Linked DNA regions of Homo sapiens: region 1 is linked to region 2. The links are contacts of gene promoters, found by promoter capture Hi-C in human tissues and cell types (Jung and others, 2019). All regions are on one chromosome and are shown on one strand. Each heading gives the region's core, a stretch centred on a gene start or on the middle of the fragment in contact. The rest is flanking DNA. Distances are from core to core; before and after follow the strand shown.

The links. The method cuts DNA at HindIII sites, captures the fragments that hold promoters and counts their contacts. A contact is called where the count stands out against the background at its distance.
Region 1: a contact is called between a fragment that was not itself captured here and the fragment with the promoter of FTCDNL1 in region 2, in 1 of the 25 tissues and cell types used here (aorta).

The regions. Positions count from the first base shown.
Region 1 is chr2:199,892,281-199,896,688 of GRCh38, forward strand. The region is part of intron 2 of LOC101927687 (a long non-coding RNA gene); the gene reads right to left. Among named protein-coding and RNA genes, the nearest start is that of C2orf69, 17 kb to the right of the region's middle. The HindIII fragment of the contact is 9,555 bases long and covers 1-4,408 here.
Region 2 is chr2:199,847,944-199,852,746 of GRCh38, forward strand. FTCDNL1 (formiminotransferase cyclodeaminase N-terminal like) reads right to left here and starts at 3,249. Exons shown (of 5, transcript NM_001363886.2): 1 at 2,797-3,249; 2 at 905-1,026. The coding sequence starts at 1,019. RefSeq lists a silencer at 3,030-3,309 and an enhancer at 3,141-3,715. The HindIII fragment of the contact is 10,346 bases long and covers 1-4,803 here.

The DNA.
Region 1 (4,408 bases), core at 681-3,180, 43 kb after region 2:
ACAAGTATGTTTATTGCAGCACTGTTCACAATAGCAAAGACTTGGCAAATGCCCATCAATGATAGACTGAATAAAGAAAATGTGGCACATATACGCCATGGAATACTATGCAGCCATAACAAAGGAAGAGTTCATGTCCTTTGCAAGGACATGGATGAAGCTGGAAACCATCATTCTCACAAACTGACACAGGAATAGAAAACCAAACACTGCATGTTCTCACTCATAAGTGGGAGTTGAACAATGAGAACACATGGACACGGAGGGGACCATCACACACCAGGGCCTGTTGGGGGTTTGGGGACTAGAGGAGGGCTAGCATTAGGAGAAATAGCTACTGTAGATGACGGGTTGATGGGTGCAGCAAATCACAATGGTATGTGTATACCTAGGTAACAAACCTGCACGTTCTGCACATGTATCCCAGAACTTAAAGTATAATAAAAAATAAAAAATTGGGCTAGGCGTGTTGGCTCACACCTGTAATCCCAGCACTTTGGGAGGCTGAGGCATGTGGATCACCTGAGGTCAGGAATTCAAGACCAGCCTGGCCAACATGGTGAAACCCCATCTCTACTAAAAATACAAAAATTAGCTGGGTATAGTGGTGGGTGCCTGTAATCCCAGCTACTCGGGAGGCTGAGGCAGGAGAATCACTTGAACCTGGGAGGTGGAGGTTGCAGTAAACCGAGATCAAGCCATTGCACTCCAGTCTGGGTGACAGAGTGAGACTCTGTCTCAAAAAAAAAGAAAAAAAAGTTAAAAATTAAAAACCCTTATTCCATTGATACCCTTTTCTGAGGAGGTTGGAATCAACCCAACTGAGAGAATGAACTGTGGAGATTGCCAGTTGTGTAGAATGAACAGTTTGTCAAGGTGAATCAAATATCTCATAGCTAGTTTGAAAGGAAGGCAGATGTAATCTTGAATGATTCACACAAATTCATAAGGTGTTAAAGGCATGAAAATAAATTTTAAAATACTTAAAAAAAAGGTGAAGGAAAAAACCGCTTCGACGTGGGAGGGCTGCAAGAGAAGCAAGGACATCAGAGCTCAGGGCAACTTCCATTAATGCAAGAAACCTCAGGAAAGAGGTTGAGGTCATACGGTGTTTTGTTGATCGCAGAGTTAGACATGCTGGGTGGCATTTTGGAGATCATGATAAAAGAATTTGGAAGCTAAGGAAAAGGTAAATAGGGCATTATGCACCTTGTACCCGATTTACAATTCACATAGAATCCAACTCCGTGAGTTCTGCAACATGAAGACCCTGGAGGTTGTAATTGGAGGAATATGAGAATAGGCATGTTGAGGATGCTTGGCCCAAATGGAGATTAACAGAGGTAGAGATGTGAGACAAGATAGAACTATGTCTTACAGTCTCTAAAAGGAGGGTGGGACTTTAACTTTAAGGTATCAATATTTTTGTTTGTTGATAATGCAGCTTGAGAGCCAGCATTCACGATGGCTTCCCCAAGAAGTACTAAATCCTGAGATTCTTAGTTTCTAAATATTTCTCTAGTTAATCCTCTTTTCCCACTCCCCTCTGTTACTGCCATAGTTCAGGATCTCATTTTCTTTCCCCTGGGGTTTTGCCGAAACCAGAGTCATTATTTGCTATGCCCCCATACGCTAAACTCGTTATTTTCCCACAATGTCAATTTAACTGGCATTTTCTACCCATGCCATGCCTTCCTACCCCCACATGCCTTTGTACTTGTTCTCTTCTCCTGCCTTGTCCTTTCTCTCCTTGTTTTCCAGGTAACAACCAGTCTGATTTCTGCCTTCAGGCCCATTTTGAATACCATTCTGTAAACACTTTTTTGACTACTCCCACCACTTTGATTTTACAAACATTACAATTCCTCATCTGTGTCTCTGCTACTTTGCAGAAGTGATTTGTATTTGTTTCCTCAATTATACTATAAATTCCTTGGGCCAAAAATTATTTCTTATATATGTTTCAGTCCAGTCTTTCATACACAGTAAGTTCTCACTAAGAGTTTGTTGAATAAATAATGTGATGCATCAAATGACACATCCATTTCTGTTTTTCACCAAAGGGTATCTCTAAATATGTTTCCTCTTTACTTTCTCGTTAACATCAAAGGTAGGTGGTCCCTCAATTCTCTCTTAAGTTCAATCATAAACAAAGCCCTTACTCCCAGGTTTTTTAATCCAAGTGACTTTATCAGTTCTTTCATTTTCTTATTTATCTCCACACTCTCTCCTTTTCAATTTGCTTTATATTTTCTGCTGTCAAGTATATCAGGTTTCAGTTATTCATCCACAGGATCACCACCTTGACTCTGCTGCTCCTTATAGATACTTCATTTGTGCCAGATCTTCCCGCCAAGGCGAGCTGTAAAAGCATCTGTTTATTCTTCTTGTCCATCAGGTAATTGTGAGATTGCACATACAAAAACATGCACAGAAACAAAAAGTACAAATCTTAAAGAAGAAAGGAAATATTTTCCTAATATTCAGTAATTTTGAAAGATTGCTGTACAAAAGCTAAGCCAAATTTTAGAGATTACTATTTATTTGGGCCCATTTAACATTTAGACAAAGGCCATCTTCCTTCTCAAGCTGCGACTAATAAGCTGTAATGAATCTTTGGTCTTCTAGTCAAACATATAAAATCTAGAGAATGGAGAGTTATTAATTTTTATGATAGACCCTTGAGAACCTGATGAAAGGTATATACAGTCTCACCCCAGGAAAAAACATACTGTAATTTTTTAGTTAGTTCAGAGGTTCACAGATCCTGTGAAGCCTAACCATAGATCCAGATGTAAAATCCTCTCATCTAAAAAGTTAGCAGTTATTAGAGATGGTTTAAAGGTTTCCTTTTTGCTAATTTTTATTTTCTAAGTTTCATAAAACAAAAATTATTTGTGTTAAAATATATATATATATTTTAAAAATAAGCCCATGCTATATGATATGCATAAAGGATCTTGTAAAATAAATTCATCATGTAGTGAACTTGTCAAAGACTGACAGGTTTTGAATGAGGCATGACTATAATACAAGGCACTTAGTTTTACCATCTGTAAAATGGAGTAATTAATATTAATCAGTCATTATGTCATATAGGTTAATACTTGCAAAATTCTAATAATTGTGATTTTTCTATGCTCTCCCTGGGTAGTCTCTCTGTCATTTAGATTGTAATTTTCTTCCCTAGTCTTGAAGCAGATATAATGCCACAGCTGTTTCTTCAGCTATTCTGTTTTCTGTGAACAAACACCTGCTTAGACTGTACCTAAGGAGTTATTTGTTTTTTGATAATTAAAGCACTGCTATGGTGATGGCCGACATCTGGATTCACTTTTAAAGACTTTGTTGTGTTTTTCTGGCTCCTGGGAGACTCATGAAGTATAACGCATTAGATGGAAATGTGGTGATGTGCTTCATTTTGCAACAGCAGTTTTACTCTCGCTTTGTTATTTCCCTACTGCAATGAGAGAGAGCTGCCACTCTGCTTGTTGCTGCTAAGAGATTAGGGGAGCTGAGCTGAGCTCTAGAAATTTAATATGCTATATAATGCCTGATTCATTTTGATTCTGGCTTTGACTTGATAAACTCACTTGGGACTGCTATAAAGAATCAATATTGGCCCGCTGCCACAGTGGCTCATGTCTTAATCCCAGCACTTTGGGGGGCTGAGGTAGGCGGATCACTTGAGGCCAGGAGTTTAAGATCAGCTTGGCCCACATGGTGAAACCCCATCTCTACTAAAAATACAAAAATTAGCTGGGGGTGGTGGTGCATTCCTGTAATCTCAGCTACTCAGGAGCCTGAGGCACGAGGATTGCATGAACCCGAGAGGCGGAGGTTGCAGTGAGCTGAGATTGTACCACTGCACTCCAGCCTGGGTGACAGACAAGAGAGGGTGCATAAAAAAAAACAAACAAAAAAAACCCCAGAAACAAAAGAATCAATATCCAGGGATTGAAAATTTGTATACATTTGTATTTGTATAAACTGGTTTTAAGATAATTTCTTTTGGAGGACAAAAAACGTCTAAGGTCTCCAACTATTTCCAACAGTAATAGAGAAACTTGGCAAAAATATCCCCATATTATGTATAATTTCCTTAAAAGATACATTCTTCAATTTCTGCTCAATAATAGTTCACTAAACTTTTCTAGAGTTTGTTTTCCAGCATTATGCACCTTTGTTTACAGTGATTATAAATTATATAATTACTCCCTCTACCTTAATATTCTTCTTAGCCTGTTACAGGTAACAGTTCTTCAAAGGAAGAAATATGTTTTCAGTCAGGACTCACAGTTGTAAGTAACAGAAGCTAATTCTGGCTGAGTGAGCAGAAAAGAATTTGTTAAAAGGAGATGGGAAGACTCAGAGAATCAATGGGAGGCTAGAGGAACAGGTATGGAAT
Region 2 (4,803 bases), core at 1,999-4,498:
GCTCACAGTTAAGATGGGTTGGGGGAAAACACTTCTTTCTTATGAAAAGCAGTAACCACATTAAAAATGACAATCGGAAATTAAAATTTACTGTCTGAAATGCTTTAGGGTTGGTTTCACCTGTTGCCAAAAAGTTATTGATTTAATAACAGCATTCTATTTAAATGATTGTATACACTGTTGTGTGTATTAGTGTGTGTGTCAAAGTAAAGACAAATAATACCTAACCATGTGTCACCACAGGAACATTTTAAAAAATGAAATGTTTTTTAAAGAGCAGTATCTTTCATAGTAATACTGGCCGAGGGAATAAGGAGGCATGAGTTCCAGTCTTCTGTCACCAAATTGCTGAGTGATCTTAAGCGCATCATTTAAATGCACTTGCCTAACAGTGTCTATACAGAGAAAAGAGGGTAGAAATAATAATACTGTAATGATTGCATGGGCTTTGCTGGCAGGAGTGCTGGGAAAAGTAGTTGGTATTTGGCAAGTTTATTTTTCATTTAATCTGCTCAATAAAAAGCATAAGGTACGATTATGCTCATTCTATTAATGATCAAATAAACGACCCATGAGGGAAACATTATACTTTTATGTAAATACATCCTCCCCAGGAGCCTGTCAATATCCTGAACAACACGCATCTCAGAGATTCACACGCAAATGTTAAGAGCTGCGCTGCTGAGCGTATGCAGACATTTGGAAAAGAGCATATGTGCACATCTGAGTAACTGAGCTATCTCAGTATCCTGGAGTTGCGCAGAGCTGCAACAGCTCAAGAGCAAGGAGGAAAATTCAGGAAGAAAGAAAGAAAAGTGTTCTGTAGATACAGTGTGCACAGTACAAAAATTACTAAATTATCAAAACACTATAATATTCAGCTTCAATTGTCTGTTTTTCCTACCATTTTTGTCAAGAAGAGCTGCTTTTGCTATGTTCTCAACAATGTATTTTCTTCCGGCTTCTGAAACGTTTAGTAAACAGGCAGCCAAACGGAGCCCCACTCTGGAAGAAGACATGATTTTTCTGGAATAGGAGAAAAATTTTTATGTGTCTCTAGAGTTGATTCATATTTTCATGTTTTAACTATAAAAAAATCATAACTTTTTGGAAACGAAGCAGTCATAATATGAGCACTTTACTATTTCATTCCTAGAAAAATTCTAAAGCATAAAATCTCCAGATTGACTAAAATAAGAAACCATGTGTACATGGTCACATACATATAAACCTTGTAACGACACTGGAAAATACCTGGCAGGGTCCTCAGCGTGAATTTCATCATGTAAGTGAAAGTTTTTCATTAAAGTATGTTATCCCATTTTAAGCATAGTTTTCCTTAGCCTTATCCCTGTTTTCAAGGTCTGTACTATTTTACAAACAGGTATGTTTTTTTTGTTGTTAAACTAGACTTAGTGGGGAAATGCAGAAAAAGAAAATGAGGAAGATTATTTAATATGTGGATTCTTATAAAAGAAATTCTTGCAGCAAAAATGAAAGTGTCTACAGGCCATGCCATGGACATTATACAAATAAATAAGGAAGCCATTTGGATGGTTTACATGACAATTGTCTAAGTTCCTCCTTGTTCCACCAAAGTTTCTAAATCAGTTTAAAGTCTTTTTACAAAATTCTGTAACTTGAAAGATGATACATATTCTGATACATATTATTCAATAATATCAAAAATGTGATTTTTGTTGAAAATTAATTATACAGGTTTTGGAGGTTGCTTTGATACTTTTTAGTACTCTAGAATAGCATTTTTGACACATCTTTCCATACTTCAAATGATATTCATGATCTAAAGGAATTAAAACATCTTAAAATAATAAGAAAATAATTTCCCTCTTCAAGTTCAGGACCTCATAACTTTGGTCTCTTTTAAATACCATAACTAAAAATAGATGAGGCCCTCATGAATTCATTCAACAAATATTTAATGAGGGTCTTTTTCTGACAGGTAATGTTCCCTGTGTGAGGGATACCAACCACTGTTCCCTGTGTGAGGGATACCAACCACAGTGGTCTAACTCTGAGACACGCGTTAAACTTTAGAGTTTAAGCTAAAAGTGCTCTGGTGCAAATAATGGTGCTCTCCCTCAATAAATCCACTGGCTTGTTCGCCAGGATCATTCGTTGGCCTAATCATCTTAACCTAGAGAGAGCTCAGGCTTCGTAGCTAGCTCAGGTTTGCAGGCAGGTTTTCATATCATGTCCATCATCTCATCACTGAAAATTCATAAAAATTCTGTCATTAGGTTTTTCTAGATATTAATAACATTGTTGTAATAAAGCAACCCAGACCTCTCGTTTCTATGTAAACAAAAAATTGCTTTACACAAGGGGTGTGGGCGTCTTCTGGTTTTCATTTGTTTTCAGTGTGTTTATGCAGCTTAATTGTCTCATCAGGCACTTTCCCAACATAATTATGCTTTTTAACAAATGGTGTTTATGGCAACCCCTAACAGTGCAAAAGAAAGGATTAGTTTCATCCTCTCATTCCACATTTTGATTCCCTGTGGACAGCTAAATCACACAAAGATGGTGTTAGAAAAATTCACCTTCACAGCGAAGCTGAAATGAGCGGCAGTACCAGGCTCAGAAAGTGACCCAAACGCAAGCCCCCCAAAACACTCTGTGTTTGGGACAGGGAGATCCTAGTCCTCCCAGCTCATCCTTCAATTACCATTGGATGACCTCTGGTGATAGATTAAACACTCGGCCGTCCCCCGCCCCCGCGCCTCCCCACCCGCGGAGAACCTAGCCTAGCAAGTGCAAAGTGCAGCAGTTCACCTGCCCCCTGCGCACGCACCCCACCGGCACTTGGAGGCCGCAAGGACGCTCGCCAGGCTGCCGCAACGCGTGCTGGGGCCAGAACCCCGCTGCTGGGATTCCCTGCGCGGTGCCGACTAGGTTCCTGGGTGGAGTGTCCCAGGACCACGTGGGCTGAAAGGGAACCCGAAGTGACTCCCGGCCTCCCCACAGGTCTCGCGGGACGCAGCAGCGGCGAGGGCGCGGGGTTGTGGCGCCTGGGAGCGAGGGGCAGCCGGCGGCTGCGCTGCCCCGGCCGAGCTCTCGAACCAGCGGCCGCGCCTGCCGCTCTGCGGTTTGGGAGGGGAGCGGACCTGCGAGCGCCGAAGGGCGGTGGGGCAGGGCGACCGCCCAGCCCAAGTCGCCGCCGCGCGTGGCCCGCGCGCAGCCTCCGCCGCCGCGCGTGGCCCGCGCGCAGCGTCTGCCGCCGGCTCCGCCTCCCGGACGCCCGGAGCGCGCCCCACCCCAGCCGCACACCGACCGGGCTGGCTCTGCCTCTCCCTCCCTGACCCGGCACCACGTGCCTGGCGTCCTTGAACGCTTCAGATTTTTATCAGTGTTGCCTTTTCGTTTGCTCTTCCGTATCGCCAGACCCTCCACAATTCTCTAGTCAATTAATGACTTTAAAGGGGCATTGGCATCTAATGATCAGGTCTTTGCCTATTGATCATGCACCAGCAGGGGGCTCTTCTCTCGTTTCCTTGGAAGGGACACACGCACTCACACACACCCTTCTGGTAAATCCCCTCCTGGAGGATTAGTGCCCCCCGTGACTGTGAACTGGACCCACCCCGGGACAAAAGCAGTCCTTGCGCATACCCATTTAGTCAAAGTTACAACGAATATGAATCAGGCTTCCGCATTTCCTTTTTTTCTAGGCCACTCAACCTTGAAAACACATTTCGCTTCCAAAAAATCAGGACCTGCTTTTTTTTTTTTCGTGTAGCAAGGATTAAATGTCACCATTTTGATCCAATTTTGTTCCTGTAGTGAAATAATCACTAAATAACTACTTTGACGGAATAAATTAATTTTTAAATCTATTTTTTATTTTCTAATTATAATTTTTAAACACAGATTTGAGGAAATTAACATTTATGTGGACATTTGGTTTCTAGCCTAATGTGGCATAAAAATAAGTAACATAATGAGTGTTAAAAAAAATCAGGTTCATGATGCTTCTCACATCATCATCATTGTACTTAGATGTCACAACAGTATTATGTGCGATTATGTCAGATCCAGCCTTCTCCATCTCGGAGTGTTGGCAGGTAGGAGGGTTGTTGGCAAGAGGAGGGGTGTTAACCTCAGGATCCTGGATCCATTCCAAGGCTGGTAATTACATTCTGCCAGCCAAAATTCATCCCATAATTTTAATTGGATAAATCCTTTCTGGCCTAAGCTACTGCTATGCCTGTCAAACTGTTGCCACATTTCACCCCAGAGGTGTCTGTGTTTTAGTTGCAAGAATCAGTCCCTTTGAGGTTGGCTTATCTGTTTAAATCCTCAAAATGCACTGGGATCCTATGGAATTAAATATATATTTAGGTATTTTTTTCTACTAAATCTGCATAGAAGTGCATAAAGTAGATACATACCCATGTTATTACCTAAAGACCAATACCTATCTAATGTCAGCATTCACTAGATAATTTTGAGAGCTTTTTAATCAGACCAATATTCCTAACTTTCTTCATCTTCTCTTTTGAGAGCTTTTTTGGCCTCTAGCTTTAGCTTCCGTTTTCCAAAAAAAGTAATGTGGTGTCCAAATGTTCCTTCCATGGTAGGGCAAAGAACCAGAATCCCCTGTATTTCACCTTTCCAAACAATCGGATAATGATACTACTTGCCAAATGAGACAGCGTAATAACATTACATCTAATCTTATAATATTTCTCCAGAGAAAACAGTGTGACACCTGGGGGCTTCATGGTTCTAGCTGTAGAAACTGCCAGAAGGAAAGCTTTTCCCCCCACAGCTCCTAATCCT